2 separate regions of the Homo sapiens genome follow, and region 1 is linked to region 2. The links are contacts of gene promoters, found by promoter capture Hi-C in human tissues and cell types (Jung and others, 2019). All regions are on one chromosome and are shown on one strand. Each heading gives the region's core, a stretch centred on a gene start or on the middle of the fragment in contact. The rest is flanking DNA. Distances are from core to core; before and after follow the strand shown. Region 1 overlaps PPP1R12B (protein phosphatase 1 regulatory subunit 12B). Region 2 holds the start of LGR6 (leucine rich repeat containing G protein-coupled receptor 6).

Region 1 (2,877 bases), core at 80-2,579, 250 kb after region 2:
GGCACACTGATAGTTTATTCAAGTAGCTATTTGCTTGCTATTGTTTGCTTGACCAAAAAAGAAAATAAAAAAGCTTTAAAAATAGCTTTTCCTTTTGGTTTGTTCAATCTTCCTTGCCCCCTTACCTAAAGCAAAAAATGGATCAGCAACATAAAAATTTCAGTATGGCGGAGGGGGGCACAGGACCCCAGGTAGGGGTCCTGGATCCAGAGGGCCAATTCCCGTCCCCCCAGCGGCATGGCTTCGTGTGCTGAACCCTCTAAGCCCTCTGCCCCCGCCTCCTGCCAGGGTCCCACCGCTTGAGGACTTCAAGGTGCTGGATGGGGTGGAGGATGCAGAGGGCGAGGAGGAAGATGACCTGAAAGAGCTGCCCCCGCTGGGCATGGGACAGCCCCCGGTGGAAGAGGCTGAACAGCCTGGGACATTGGCCCTAGAGTTCCTCGCTGCCATGGAGCCTGAGCCCGCCCCGTCCCTGGCCCCGGAAGCAGCTGTTGAGGAAGAAGACGCTTGTCCCAGGGCCGCCGGGTTCAAGCCGCCCAGTCAAGGGCCAGGTGGTTACCGTGCATTTTGCAGACGTCGTGAGAGAACAGCATGTGGGAGCTGGTGTTCACCTTGAACAACTGTGACGTCATCCAGGCCCTGGATCTTAGTGTCTAACTCACGGACGTGGGGGAGACGGCCATGGTCACTGCTGACTCCATCTACTGCTATAGCCCCCAGGGCAGGAGCCCATACATCCACCGCACGCGGCCCTGTGCCTGGAGGTGACCCCGAAGACGGCCGTGGACTGGCCTGACCTGGAGATGCTCACAGGGCAGGAGCGCATGGCCCTGGCCAACCGGAAGCAGGAGTGCGGCAGTGCCCACTACCAGTGGGCGGACTTCATCCTGGCCGCCAACTCCTATGACCTTGCCATCAAGACCATCACCTCCAGCGCCAAAGTGGACATGACGTTCGAGGAGGAGGAGCAGCTCCTGTAGTTGAAGGTGAAGTGTCTGAACAACCTGGCGGCCTCGCAGCTGAAGCTCGACCACTACTGCGCAGCCCTGTGCTCCTGCAGCCTCGTTGGAGCACCATCCAGACAATATCAAGGCTGTCCTCCACAGAGGCAAGATACTGGCCCAGCAGGGTGAGTACAGTGAGGCCATCTCCATCCTGAGGGCAGCCCTGAAGCTGGAACCTTCCAACAAGACGATCCACGCAGAACTCTTGAAGCTGGTGAAGAAGCACGCGGCACAGCGGAGCACGGAGACCGCCCTGTACTGGAAAATGCTGGGCGACCCCAGCTGGCTGCCCGCCAAGTGCCCCGGCAAGGGTGCCTGGTCCAGCCCATGGAAGTGGCTGTTTGGGGCGACTGCTGTTGCCTTGGGGGGTGTGGCGCTCTCTGTGGTCACTCCTGCCAGGAACTGACCACCCAGGTGGCCGCCACCCCCTCTGTACACCATGGACCCTGCCCTGTGCTCCATAACTCCCCCAGGCTCCCTGTCCACTGCCCTTCCTGGTCCGGCCCCCTTCTCCAAGTTGGAGGCAGCAAGGACTGGGGGTTGTGCAGCCCAGCCAGCAGGAGGGACTGAGGCCCTCTAGGAGGAATGCGCAGAGTGAGGGGGACCTCATTCCTTCAGACCCACTTTCCTCCCCACTCCCCTTCTCCTGCTGGGCTAGGTCTCCACTGGGGCCAGCCTCAGTTTCTCCTCAACAGGTTTGGGGACAGCCCCTCCTGCCCTGCTTGCCCCACACTGTCTAGGCTCACTTCCTGCCACAGTGTAATAAAGCCTCCTACCCTGCAAAAAAAAAAAAAAATTCAGTATGGCCTAAGAGGTTCTCTGGGCTTTGAGTCCAAATTAAGCTCAGGCAAATTAGTACTTAGAAAAAAAAAATTTTTAACTTGTCATTCTTTCATTAATATGGAAAATGTGGTTAGGCTAACTTCACACATAGTTTGTGTATTCATTCAAGATTAGTAAATTTTTATTTTCTTCACTTTTTAGTTCCAGATTTTATAGGACTCTCTTTGTGCTTTTCTCTGGGGTCACATCTTCCTTGTAATCACAGTCCTCTTGCTTTATATCTCTGGAGACTACTGAAAGAGATGAGGCATATTGGTTGAATTAACTCTGCAGCATACTATTGTACATATTCCTAAGGAAGCTGTATTTCAAGGAAAAGATGTACTGGGGACTATTGGGGACTACATAAATCTTATTTCATCAAGAATATTAGAGTGGAGCTTTCTGTTTGTGTCTTCAAAGGCTTTCCTCCTCTCTTGACAGAGGTGCTGCTTTGCATAATTTGTGCTGCTGTTTTCTTTATTTACTCATCCTGACTTTCCCATGAGAATTATTTCCCTTCATACTGTTTTTTAATGGAAGAAAGTTAGGAATAAGCTTTTGAAAGCTAACCTTTTGTAAATACCACTCAAAATAGAATTAGTGTTGGATCCAGAAATAAGATGATATAGGTATATTAAGTTCTGCTTTTTTACTCAAAATGTTTTATGCTGTGCCAGTATTGTACCTTTCTTGTGCTTTACTTGTTTTTATTTTACAGGAGAGAGAAAACAAAAGCTATATTAGTTCACTAGCACCCCGGAAGCTCAACAGCACAAGTGATATTGAAGAAAAGGAGAACAGGTAATCCTAAAACCAGCCAAAAGATGGTCCTCATCCTCTTAGGTCTACTGGACATAGTCATCTCCTGGGCATTACTCTTCTGCATTTTTCCCTCAGGTGTCCTTACCACATTATGAATTGTTTATTCCTTCTGCTTAGAACACCTCTCAACTCTTATATCCTTGCTTTGCTGGTTCTTTATTTTTCAAATTCTAACTCCAGGTTAGACATTACCTTCTTTAGGAAGTCTTCCCTGATTTTTCCACAC
Region 2 (2,700 bases), core at 3-2,502:
TGGAGGCCTAGGGTCAAGGTCTGCTCATTTCTTGGTCCAGCTATGCAGCCCCTCTAGCCCTGGGAGGTTATTGGGAGAGTGGAGAGGTGTTGATGAGAGGATCCTGGCATGTGGAAAGACAGGGTGGAAGAAATCCTGGATGCCTCTGAGGTCCCAGGTTTCTAGTATACCCTCTGGCTGGACCATGGGGAGATAGGGCAAAAAAAGGAAGGAGGGGGGCCCACAGCCTGCTCTAGCTCTGCGCGGGGGCTTGGCTCAGCATGGGAGAGACCAGAGAGAGCAAGAGGCTGCATGAAGGAAGCACAGCCAGCTCACTATGGTCTAAGGAGAGAACAGGGATTGACCTCAGTTTTAACCACCATGCCCTTTGCTCTCCAGGGCTCTGGGGCCGGCCCAGGTCAGCCACTTGGTGGGATTCCAGCCTCAGGGTGGCTGAGCTGCAGGTGCAGCACCCGGCCTCCAGGTGGCACCAATCCGCTTACTTTGAGGTGGGCTCTGACAACCAGCTGAGCTGCCCACAGTCCCTCAGACTCCCGAGGTCCTGGGAGCAGGGATCAAGGTGGTCCCCAGGCCGTAAACCTGACAGAGGCTGCAGGAGTGCATTTCCACCCAGGGTGCACTCAGCGGGTGTAACTCCACACCCGTTTCTTTGGAGTCAAGGCCCGGCCTCTCAGTGAGGAGACTGCTCCTGGTTGCCCACCGTCGGGTCATCCCAGCCTGCAGTGGAACCCTCCGCAGCCTGGCCTCTTCCAGGGTAGCCCCTCACTCCCCTCTCTCCTGTCCTAGCAGACAGGCCAGGGAGGGTGGACGAGTTCCAGCTCTGGGGATGTCCCATCAGCTGTGTCACCTTGAACAAATCATTTTGCCTCTTGGGTCTCAGTTTCCTGCAGTGTGAAACGTGGTGGAGGCATGAGGGGCAATGGGAGCCCCAAGGCCTCTTTCAGAGACCTCCTCTGGGTCCCATGTGACCTCGTGGCTGTCCCCAAAGGCAAGAGGGTCCCCAGCCCTGCGGCCAAGGCCCTGGGACACCCTATCCAAACAAATGCAGGTCTCTGACGGGCTGAGCTTTGCTCGCTTGGGTTTCTTTGCTTTCTTCCTTTTTTTTTTTTCTTTCCTGGATGAAATTCCTGCCAGCTCCGAAGGAAGGAGGGAAGAGGAGCGAGCCGCAGTGTAGAAAGTTTCCTTGACTCCTCCTCCGGCTGGGTCTCCCTCCCTTGCCAAGCCCAGCCTGTGAAACTGAATAACGAAGATCACTCAACAATGCCTGCCCCTCTCTGACTGCACCGTCCCGGCGCTCCCACCGCCGCCGCCGCCGCCCAATAGAGCCCCTGGGGCGGTCCCCACCGACGGTGCAGCCCGCCGGGACCGGGAGGAAGCAGCTGCGGCCATCGCGCCGTGCGTCCGCGCCCGGCCGCCAGGTGCCCCAGTAGCCCGACCGCCGAGATGCCCAGCCCGCCGGGGCTCCGGGCGCTATGGCTTTGCGCCGCGCTGTGCGCTTCCCGGAGGGCCGGCGGCGCCCCCCAGCCCGGCCCGGGGCCCACCGCCTGCCCGGCCCCCTGCCACTGCCAGGAGGACGGCATCATGCTGTCTGCCGACTGCTCTGAGCTCGGGCTGTCCGCCGTTCCGGGGGACCTGGACCCCCTGACGGCTTACCTGTGAGTACTGCCCGCCTGTCCCCGCCTGGTCCTGCGGGCTGCTGGCTAGCGCCCAGTCCCGGCCTCAGCAGGGCACCTGCTTGCTTGGTGCCCTGGGGCATGGGCATCCCGGAGAGGGTTTGCCCCCTTCCAAGTTGACCGTTGCGGGACTGGGGAGGGGAGAAGAGTCTGAGACTAAATACCAGGCGAGCAGGGAGACCGGGCTTCCCTGACTTGGCTTCCCCATTGGCCTCCGTGCTTGTGGGCTGACTATGGGAGCCCAGGCTTGGCGAGGTGGGTTCTGGACCCTGAGCGGGAGGGCGCGGGGCTGGCTGCTCCATCTCCTGTTGCTGCATTCTCTTCTAGCAGAGCAGTGCCCGGGATGGTGGCTGAGGGTAAAGCTGACAGAACTGGAGGTGGAGGTGAGGGGAGCGTGCCCCAGTAGGGTGGAAATAATGTCTGTTCTTCTGCCATGGTGAGGACAACAGGGCTGTCACACTGAGGCTGGGTGGCCTTCGTGGGGGCGGGGGGGGCGGGTTTCCTAGAAGCTGGGAGGGGGGCCTTATCCACTCTTGTCTCCTCAGAAAGGGACTCTGCCAGCACCATCTCCCTTCACTGGGGCCTCCTGGCTCCCCCAGGGGCCTCCCTAAAGTCATGTCCCAAGAGGCTGTGTTGGAGACACTAATTTGTGGGCAGGCGCCGAGGCTGAAAACCAGAGAACCATTTTTAGCGTCTGAGTTGGGGTGAGATGGCGCGTGAAGGGGACCCTACTGGGGGCAGCTGTCCTGTCTGTCTGGCTCATGGGAGCTTCCCCTCAGAGCTGGAGGGCTGGGGGCTCTGGCTGCTCACCACCTGGGCAGGAGGAGGGTGAGAGAGCACATTCCAGGCCACCCACCTGCACCCCCAGCCCCGCTCTGGGGCAAGGAAACCTCCTCCAGCCCAGCTCTGCAGGCTCTATCAACTTCCTCAGAGGAGCTGGGAGCAGGTGGGAAAGCCTGGTGGGGCCTTCTGCTGAGGGCTAGGATCCCAGAGTTCCTTCTGGCCTGAGAGAGGCTCCTTATGGCTT

Evidence for each region. The method cuts DNA at HindIII sites, captures the fragments that hold promoters and counts their contacts. A contact is called where the count stands out against the background at its distance.
Region 1: a fragment that was not itself captured here is called in contact with the fragment with the promoter of LGR6 in region 2 in 3 of the 25 tissues and cell types used here (IMR-90 fibroblasts, aorta and heart right ventricle).

Annotation. Positions count from the first base shown.
Region 1 is chr1:202,438,159-202,441,035 of GRCh38, forward strand. It overlaps PPP1R12B (protein phosphatase 1 regulatory subunit 12B), which reads left to right. Exons shown (of 24, transcript NM_002481.4): 11 at 2,548-2,630. It also overlaps the pseudogene LOC100420423. Among named protein-coding and RNA genes, the nearest start is that of PPP1R12B, 91 kb to the left of the region's middle. The HindIII fragment of the contact is 5,580 bases long and covers 1-2,877 here.
Region 2 is chr1:202,192,547-202,195,246 of GRCh38, forward strand. It overlaps LGR6 (leucine rich repeat containing G protein-coupled receptor 6), which reads left to right and starts at 1,253. Exons shown (of 18, transcript NM_001017403.2): 1 at 1,253-1,655. The coding sequence starts at 1,444. RefSeq lists enhancers at 1-642, 337-386. The HindIII fragment of the contact is 27,919 bases long and covers 1-2,700 here.